3 separate regions of the Homo sapiens genome follow, and regions 1 and 3 are each linked to region 2. The links are contacts of gene promoters, found by promoter capture Hi-C in human tissues and cell types (Jung and others, 2019). All regions are on one chromosome and are shown on one strand. The core of a region is centred on a gene start or on the middle of the fragment in contact, and the rest is flanking DNA. Distances in the headings are between cores, read along the strand shown. Region 1 overlaps PCED1B (PC-esterase domain containing 1B). Region 2 holds the start of SCAF11 (SR-related CTD associated factor 11). Region 3 has its middle 56 kb from the start of PCED1B.

The links. Contacts are between HindIII fragments. The study calls those that stand out against the background at their distance.
Region 1: a fragment that was not itself captured here is called in contact with the fragment with the promoter of SCAF11 in region 2 in 1 of the 25 tissues and cell types used here (IMR-90 fibroblasts).
Region 3: a fragment that was not itself captured here is called in contact with the fragment with the promoter of SCAF11 in region 2 in 1 of the 25 tissues and cell types used here (lymphoblastoid cells).

The regions. Positions count from the first base shown.
Region 1 is chr12:47,218,812-47,221,872 of GRCh38, forward strand. All of the region lies in intron 3 of PCED1B (PC-esterase domain containing 1B), which reads left to right. Among named protein-coding and RNA genes, the nearest start is that of PCED1B-AS1, 3.9 kb to the left of the region's middle. RefSeq lists enhancers at 1,831-2,331, 2,627-3,061. The HindIII fragment of the contact is 4,388 bases long and covers 1-3,061 here.
Region 2 is chr12:45,989,302-45,992,388 of GRCh38, forward strand. SCAF11 (SR-related CTD associated factor 11) reads right to left here and starts at 1,273. Exons shown (of 15, transcript NM_004719.3): 1 at 1,052-1,273. RefSeq lists silencers at 347-416, 817-916, 1,257-1,306 and enhancers at 567-616, 977-1,186, 995-1,708, 1,427-1,626, 1,637-1,706 and 1 more. The HindIII fragment of the contact is 22,524 bases long and covers 1-3,087 here.
Region 3 is chr12:47,022,288-47,025,355 of GRCh38, forward strand. No RefSeq gene overlaps it. Among named protein-coding and RNA genes, the nearest start is that of PCED1B, 56 kb to the right of the region's middle. The HindIII fragment of the contact is 4,816 bases long and covers 1-3,068 here.

The DNA.
Region 1 (3,061 bases), core at 289-2,788, 1.2 Mb after region 2:
TGCTCTCATTTTTAAATTCAAAAAATGTTTTCCATAGATCGGCCGCCTGTGGAAAAAGGTGACTCAGGCCTGTAATCCCAGCACTTTGGGAGGCCTAGGTGGGTGGATCACCTGAGGTCAGGAGTTCGAGACCAGCCTGGCCAACACGGTGAAACTCCGCCTCTACTAAAAATAGAACAATTATCTGGGCATGGTGGCAAATGCCTGTGATCCCAGCTATTCCGGAGACTGAGGCAGGAGAATCACTTTAGCCCATGAGACAGGGGATGTAGCGAGCCAAGATTGCACCACTGCACTCCAGCCTGGGCAACAGAGTGAGACTCTATCTCAAAAAACAAAAATAAAAAAGTTTCTTTTTCCATAGAAACACTATTACACATAGAATTTAAATACTACAAAAATGGTAACAATAATGATAGCAACAATAATAAAATAATGTCCATTTTTAAAACTCTTTTGGGTAATCCCTTCAGAGGAGCATAGGTGCTATTTCCCCCATTTAAGAAGTAAAAAACTAAGTAGCACAAAGATAAAGTAAGCATTAGAGGTGGAAGAAATCCAGGCCTGCTGACTCAACCCTAGATTCCTGTTACTGAGTAAATGGACTTTTGTAGCTAGTCCTGGAGCAGAATTGTCACAATCCAACCTGTTCATCAGTTGAAAGCACTCGTCATTATTAGCTCTCCAATCGCCCTTGTTTTTCATCCATGGGAACTTTTAATTCAGCCACTGGTTGGAATCTAGAGTAGTCAGCATAAGCCTAAACATTTGAAACACAAATATAGCTTTAGTGCAGCACTGGGTTTTCCATCGGCTTTTAAGAAGACTAGCTAACAGAGTGATGAAAATCGAACTAAGTTATTTCACACCTGCTTTGTTTTCTCATGGAAAAATTTAAAGCTGTGCACAAAATATTGTTTTGTTTTTCAACAGAGAATAACAAGGAAAGCTACATGCAAATATTTCTTTCTAGATAATATGATTTTTTTTCTTCTTAATTTAAACAAGTATTTATAGCTGAGATTAAAAGCTCAGGCTTTGGAGCCATACTTCTTCCTAAAGAAACAAAAGGAAACCTTAAGCTTATCTAATTATTCAGAAGATTCACTGTCAATAATGGGTGTGGTGGCATGAGCCTAAAGTCCCAACTACCTAGGAGGCTGAGGAGGGAGGATTGATTGAGCCTGGGAGGTTGAAGCTGCAGTGAGCCGTGATCATGCCCCTGTACTCCCAGGTGACCAAGGGAGACACTGCCTCAAAAAAAAAAAAAAAAAAAAAAGAAGAAGAAGAAGAAGATACATTGTCAAAAGAATAGTTCTGCCATTTACTAGCTGGGCAACCTTAGGCAATTTATTTATTTATTTTTAATTTATTTTTTGAGACAGAGTCTCATTCTATTGTCCAAGCTGGAGTGCAGTGGCGCGATCTTGGCTCACTGCAACCTCTGCCTCCCGGGTTCAAGCAATTCTCTTGCCTCGGCCTCCTGAATAGCTGGGATTACAGGTGTGTGCCATGACACCAGGCTAATTTTTGTATTTTTAGTAGAGACTGGGTTTCACCATGTTGATCAGGCTGGTCTCAAACTCCTGACCTCAGGTGATCCACCCACCTCGGCCTCCCAAAGTGCTGGGATTACAGGCGTGAGCCACTATGCCCAGCCAACCTTAGGCAATTTATATAACCTCTCCATGCCTCAGTTTACTTATCTATAAAATGGAGATAATAATACTTCCTCCTTCACCGGGTTGTGAGAATGGAATAGGCCTGGCACAAAGTGAGTGCTCAGTGAGTGCCGATGATTACTAGGCACAGGCACTGGGCCCTGAGGGGTACAAGGATGGGTGAGACCCACTTCTGCCATCCAGAACTAGCATAGAGTGGGATAGAATGGCACATGGGCAGTTAATTATAGAACAAAACAGAACCAAAGGTTAAGTAGAGGCATCCCTCAGAGGAAGGAGAGATTTTTCTATCTAGGAGAGTAGGGAAGGCTCTCTGACAAAATTGTCTTTTAACGTGAGTCTTAATGAAGGAGCAGAATTTCAGTAACAGGAAAGGGTTGGGGAACATTCAAAGGTGAGTCACAGAGACAAACATAAAGACATGAGAAAAGGCCCTCTGGGCTTATACAAACCCTATGGTTCCCTGCGGGCTTTCAGAAGATCCCAAGAAGAAAGGATCATATCCCAAGACATAAAAAGTTTACAGAATGCAAAATGTTGGAATTATTCTAACATATTAAATGAATTTGAAACTTTAAAACCTAGATGATGAAGTTTTATGTAAGAAAACATATAAAATTAAAACTATACCAATTAAAAAATAATGTTTTAATCAAAGACACACTTTTTAAGGACTAAGAAAAATTGGGGGAAAGTAAAATATTTAACCATAAAACTGAAAACAAATGTGACATTGATCACTGTGCTCAGCTTCCCAAAATATATATTGCAACATTCCCCTCCTCCCTAAGCTATATCTTCAAAATATATATATTGTTTCCAATATTTGTTAGACATCAAAATTCTTTTTTTTTTTTTTTTTTTTTTTAAGAAAGGGATATCACCATGTTGTCCAGGTTGGTCTTGAATTCCTGGGCCAAGTGATCCTCCTGCCTAAGCTTCCCAGAGTGCTGGGATTACAGGTGGTGAGCCACCACGCCCCGCCAACATGAAAATTTTTAAATGATTGCCAGGATACAGATCAACCTAAGGATTTCTTCACAATTAAAACAAAACCAGTCATCAAAAATAAAAATGACTTTATCCACACATTTCAGAAGCAAAGTATATTTCCACCCAATTATGTATTCCCAGCCAGTGCTTCAAGAAAAATTATACAGCAGCTCTCTGAAATTGCCTGGTGAGAATGTGCTGCCATCATTCCCATTGTTGGTCAATGCAATATTTACATTTAGGGAGACTGTTCAAAGGTCACAAGACAATTATTTGAGAAATTCAGCCACAGTTTGATGGGAAGATAAATGAGTGTCTAGAGAAGTGGGAAGTGGCTGGGCATGGTGGCTTATGGCTGTAATCCCAGCACTTTGGGAGGCCAAGGC
Region 2 (3,087 bases), core at 23-2,522:
AAATCGGAGAAAAAAATTTAACATCAGCATCTACTACACAAAGCATTAAAAACATTTTTCAGCAGTTTTGCTTAAGTATCTTAGGTCAGTGGTAGCATGTTAGCCAAAATGTAATCCAAAATGAATGAACAACAGTCAGCTGGTAGACACTGTATGTAATACAATACGGAAATATATTGGAAGTATTTCAAAATTCAACATTTGAATCCGTGAATGTCTAAATCAAGTACTCTAAATCAGGCGTCTACTTTTGAAACAATACTTCAAAATACGTGTTGGTGGCAAGACCGCCAGCCATCTGTAGGAAATCTTTTTAATGGTTCAAAATTCCTAGGTCTCAGAAGGGGCGACTGATTAGGCTAAATTTATATCTCCCGGCCCCGTAGTTGTCAGCCCAGGTAGCGAATTTAAAACACTGGGGGTGGATGAGTAGTTTGAAGTTCAGATCAAGGAGTGAAAAAGGCTGATGCTTAGAAGCGCCGGCTCTTCCCCATTCGCGCACTCGAGAGGTCACGGCGTAGTAAAGTTTGGTTTCACTAGCGGGCTTGGACGCTCGCGACCAAAGTCTCCCAAGAAAAGCCGACACCGCGGTCGGGAGCGCCCGGAAGCTCAGCAGGACACGTTTCCACTGCAGGGAGGAGGGTGTCTGTGGCGGTTCTGGCGTGGAGCCCCTTCCCCCCCCCCCGTAGGACCCTGCACCCGGACGGGGACAGGCTTCGCCAGCTAAGGCGGCGGGAGACGCGTAGGCCACAAGGAGGAAATGGGACAGAGTGCGACAGAGAGGCGGCGGCGGCCCAGGGCCGGGCCGAGCCTCCCTCGCGGGGCAGCGAGAGGGAAAGGGGCCCTCCCGGCCGCAGCCTCCCCCACTTCGAGAGGTAGCTCCAACTTTCCTCCCAGCGCACGACGTCGCACGGGCCGCGCGAGATTCCGAAACTTTGTCAGCCCTCGCGTCGCCCTAGGCCCGCTCCAGCGCTCTGCGCCGGCCGCTAACCCTCGTCTCTCCCAGACAGCTGCCCAAGCCCATCCACCCCGCGGGTCGACCAGTGTTTACCTCAGACCGAGGTCGAGGCGCTCGGTCCGGCCGCGGCCCCACAGTAGGTTCCCAGGTCCCAGTCACTCCGCTGCCAAGTTCCCCAACATGGACTCCTTCGTCCGCTTTGTGGTGTTACAGGGTCTCTAGGACACTGACTCCGCTGGCTCGGTCCGGAGGCGGCGGCGAAGCAGGGAGCGACCCAGGTTGCGCTGCTCCGCGCGGCTTAAGCCACCGCTACTCCCCCTTCCCCCGCCTTGTCTAGCCTCCTCCCTCCCCTCCCCTCCCTGCGCGTCTCCCTCCTCCTCCCTTCCCTCGCTGTCGGCGCGCTAAGGTGACGACGGCGGCAGCCGGACTCGCCACATTCTGCTTACTCGCTCGCTCTGGCCCTGAGTGCATGTTCGTAGTACCCAGTTGGGCCGCAGGGGGGCGCTGGCAAACTGCTGTTTGAGACCGAGAAGCGTGGTGGGTGGAGTCACGTCACGCGGCCTGTGAGCGGGAGGAAGGGCAGCTGCGCTGGAGGGGCCTTCTGGGAAACGTCCTTCCAGCACCGCCCTTCGCCCACACTGCGGATGGTGCGCATGCGCAGCGCGTGGACTTTGGCCTCTGCCCTCCTTTGGCAGTTTTACAGGCTGCGTCGCGGAGGACAATGAAAGAGGCTTTAAGGGAACTGGACAGGAAGGATTTTGCGCAGGGTGTGCTCCTTATCTTTATGGTAATCTGATATTGAAAAGAGTGTCCGCATGTTTGCGGTGGATTGAGTGTTCACCTGGCTGCGCTGCCCACCTGAAATGCAGCCTGTGGAGTGAAGAGTCGGCAATTTGGAAGCCCACCTTTCCTCCTTTCTGGTGGGCATTTTTTTAGATGCCAGGGGGAGAGCTTTCCCGCCTGACTCCCCGAGCCTAGGGGCTTTCCCATGTCTTAACCCCACATCACAAAATTAAATTTGGGCCAGGTGCGCGGTGGCTCACGCCGGTAATCCCAGCGCTTTGGGAGGCCGAGGCTGGCGGATCGCTTGAGCTCAGCAGTTCGAGACCAGCTTGAGCGACGTATTAAGATCTCGTTTCTACAAAAAATAAAATTAACCGGCCGTGGTGGCGCGCACCTGCGGTCCCAGCTCCTCGGGAAGATGAGGTGGGAGAATCGCTTGAACCCGGGAGGCGGAGGTTGCAGTGAGCCGAGATCGTTCCACTGCACTCCAGCCTGGGCGACAGAGCGAGACCCTGTCTCAAACAACAACAAAAACTTTATCATTATTTACTTAAAAGGCCTCCGCGTTGTGGTTAGATAGTGACGTGTGTGCCATCCTCCACTTTTTCCCCCGGCGGGTTGTTAAATGTTTTGTTTTACCTCGGAGGTATTTTGACTTTTTCAAAGTCACTGATTATTTAACCTCCTAGTTTCTCTTCTCGTCGACTGCAGCAAGCTTCCGGTTGCTCTGCCTGCCCTCAGTGTCCCCCATCTACCAGCTGACCTTCCAGTCCTCCCACCCACGCCCTTGTCCTGCTTGCGGCTCCCGCAGGACTAAGCTCTGCTCCCCGCGCGCGGCTCACCCAGGTCCCAGTCGCTTTCAGCCGCGCGCTCACACGTTTTCCTGTCGCCTGCCCCCGTTCTGTTCGCGCGTGCTGCGCTCTCCAGCCACCCTGACGCCTGCCCGGGATGAGTTTCCTCCCCACTTTGCCGCGGCCCCGCCGACCGACCGCTTCACTGCCGCCTTCCTGCATTCTCGCAGACTACGTTGCGGCGTCCCCTGCTCCCGCCCTGAGGACGTCGCTTTTCTGGCACTTTCATCCTATGCATTCTGTTGAGTCTGCTCACTGTCTCACACTGTGAGGATTGGGACAGTGTCTTATCACTTTCATAACAGCGTCTGGCACTTGCTGAAGGAACACATGAATGGCGGTCTTGTCGCTGTCAAAGTCTTTGGAGTTTTTCAGTGTACTGTTTTTGATATGGGGTTTGGGAATTTAGGTGGCTTTACTGTATTTGGGATATTTGAGGGGAAAATGAGCTAGAGGCGTTAAAATGCTTTCTTCTGATGGAACAACAAAATTCTT
Region 3 (3,068 bases), core at 521-3,020, 1.0 Mb after region 2:
TCTGTTATTATTTTTAAACATCTATTTTATTTATTATTATTAAAGGAGCAGTTATCACTAATGCAATCATTTCAGAAAAATTTTCTTTAAAGCAAACACAGGAAAACAGAAACAAAAACCACCTCCATTTAATTGAGTTCTTAGTATGTGCCACGTGATTTAAATACTTTACATACTTTTCTTACTTAGTCCTCACACAACCTGATAAAGTTTCATTTTATAAAGGAAGAAACCAGGCTGAGTCATTGAATAACTTATTTTAAGCCACATTGACAGTAAAGGGCAGCTTCTGGATAAAACCTAAGTGTGTCCAATTTTGAAGCCGTGCTTATAAATGTGACAAAAAATACTTTATAACCATGTCAGGAAAACATGCATTGTACCTACTACTCTACAAAGTCTAGCCAAGAGCAGAACTGACATGCATTGTCTTATTTGCCATAGGTAAATCAACAGGAAAGCGAAGTATAAACAGTTAACTCAGACTAGTATATTACCCAGGGTTTTATACTGGTTGATCTGCCATTATTCCAGAGGCAAGACTACAAATCACTTGGATAACATGATCCTGCAATGTCAAGGTAGGTAAATAACTTGTGAGAGTTTTTAAATGATGCCATCACCACTGCAGAAGAGTATATTTACTCCTTCTGCTTTCCTTAAAATGGCTAGCATTAGGCTCTTTATTCAGAAATTTTTATATTATAACATACCTTATCTTATATCATTATCTTCTCCCAACAATCTATTAGGCCAACGTGCTAGATCAGTGATGTTACTTTAAGGCCCTCTCAATCTTTTTTAAAAGTTGTAAACAGACCACTGTGCCACGTAAAGATTAAAGTGTAAAGACTGAGACTTCAAGAATAAATTTTAATGCTGTGATCATATAATATATAAATTTTGCCAAACTACTTTTTGAGCTGCATGCTAATTAAATACAATGCTTAACAACCACTGATACACACACACACACACACACACACACACACACACACACACATAGAACTACTTTTACATAGCTAAACCAAGAAATGGGAAAGCTTGTTACTTTGTTTCTAGATTCCTGGATTCATAATTCAAGGGCATTGTGATAGATCTCCTTTGTTGTTCTTCCTATATCCACCCCTCCCTCCCCAAGCCAATGGAACCTTAAGTTCGTTCAGGTGGCTGCTGAGATCTTTCCCTCTGTCGAGTATTTATGGATGGGTTTAAACCAATCGTGATTCATCCCAGGGCCAGGGATAAATTATGATTGGTCTAAACCAGCCTTAGTAATCTTAGTAATCTTGTAACTTTGTCTGGGAATGAAGTGACAAATTTTGGTCAATGAGATGAAAGCAGAAGTTTTTGAATGAGCCTCCAGGGCTTGTCTTTCTGATTAACACAGATAACATAGAAAAGAACTTTTGTCTTTCTGATTAACATTGATAAACTTACAGAAGACAGCCTTTGCCTTTCTCTTCTCTTCTGCCTGCAATGAAGACATAGTCCCTGGAGGCACAGCAGACATTTGTGACCATAAGATGACAAGCCTGAGGACAAAAGTCAACTTTTATTTTTTGAGACGGAGTCTCATCCTGTGGCCCAGGCTGGAATACAGTGGCATGATCTCGGCTCACTGCAACCACATCCCCGGTTCAAGGGATTCTCATGTCTTAGCTTCCCTAGTAGCTGGGACTACAGGCATGCACCACCATGCCCAGCTAATTTTTGTAATTTTAATAGAGACGGGGTATCACCATGTTGGCCAGGCTGATCTCGAACTCCTGACCTCAGGCGATCTGCCCACCTGCACTTCCCAAAGTGCCAGGATTACAGGCGTGAGCCATCTCACCTGGACAAAAGTCAATTTTCTAAGGATGATGCAACAGGATGATAGGTCTCTGACAGCATCGCTGAGTTCATTGAATAGCTGTATCAGGACGTTTCTTACCTTTGGATTCCTTGCAATGTGACAAAAAGTTTTATTTATATAAGCTATTGTTTGTAGGGGTTTCTGTTACTTGCAGCCTCATGTATTAGGTTGAACCATATGATATGTTGTAAACAAAAATAGTTGAAGCTTAGCAGATTTCTATGATTCAACCAATTTTATGAATTGATGCTGAATTCAAGACCCTTTCACTTCTCCAGCAATCAAAACCTCTCCTTTTCCTCTCTCCTGCCACCTGATACCACACAAAATAGATCTTTATATATATATATTTCTGACATTTAATCAATGATGTGCTGGTAAACTAGTTTGTTAGGAGGAAAAGCCCTGATTTGTACTGTATTTATGGTATAACTACTCCCACTATGTCTCATTTTAAGCTTCCAGCTTGAGGTCACTGAAAAAGGAGTTGGAAAGAAATGCTCGCAATCAGCTCTTCTGAGCTGCTACTACAGCCAGCTCCAGCATGCCACTGCCCACGCATTGGCCAAAGCTCTGTTACAGTGTATGATGGTCAGAGCTAATGTTAGAAAGTAATTTATTATCCTTACTATTATTCTCTTTGTAGCATTGAGACAAAGATACAAGAAAAATATAATATATCCAATAATTATATGATATATATGCTAAGTACATATTATGTACACATAAAATAATTATAAAATACAATAATTATATCATATAATTAGGATATGGGGAAATTGACAAGATAAATGTAGATCTTTGCCCTCTGATTCATTTAGATCTAGTAAAAAAAACTAAAGAAAATGTGTCAGAGTAGCCACCAAGGAGACATAAAATAGTATGAATTTTTACCAACAAAATAACTTATAATTTTGATATAATTATAATTCTACATTATGGCTTTATTATAATTTATAAGAATATATAATTTTACCAACAAATTAATTAATATGAATTTTTACCAACTAGCTCTTCTATTGCCTAACTTTTATCAGTTATCTCTAATGGGTAAGAAAGAAAACCAAGATATCCTTCACTGGTTATTCATTTTTTGAAAAAGCTGTATTCTGTTGCAGTTAAAGAAGATGAAGCATTTGACTTCCATTTGGGACAGTGACCTTTATAAAATACCGCCCTCCCTCCCCCAAACCCTCAGCCCCCAAACTCA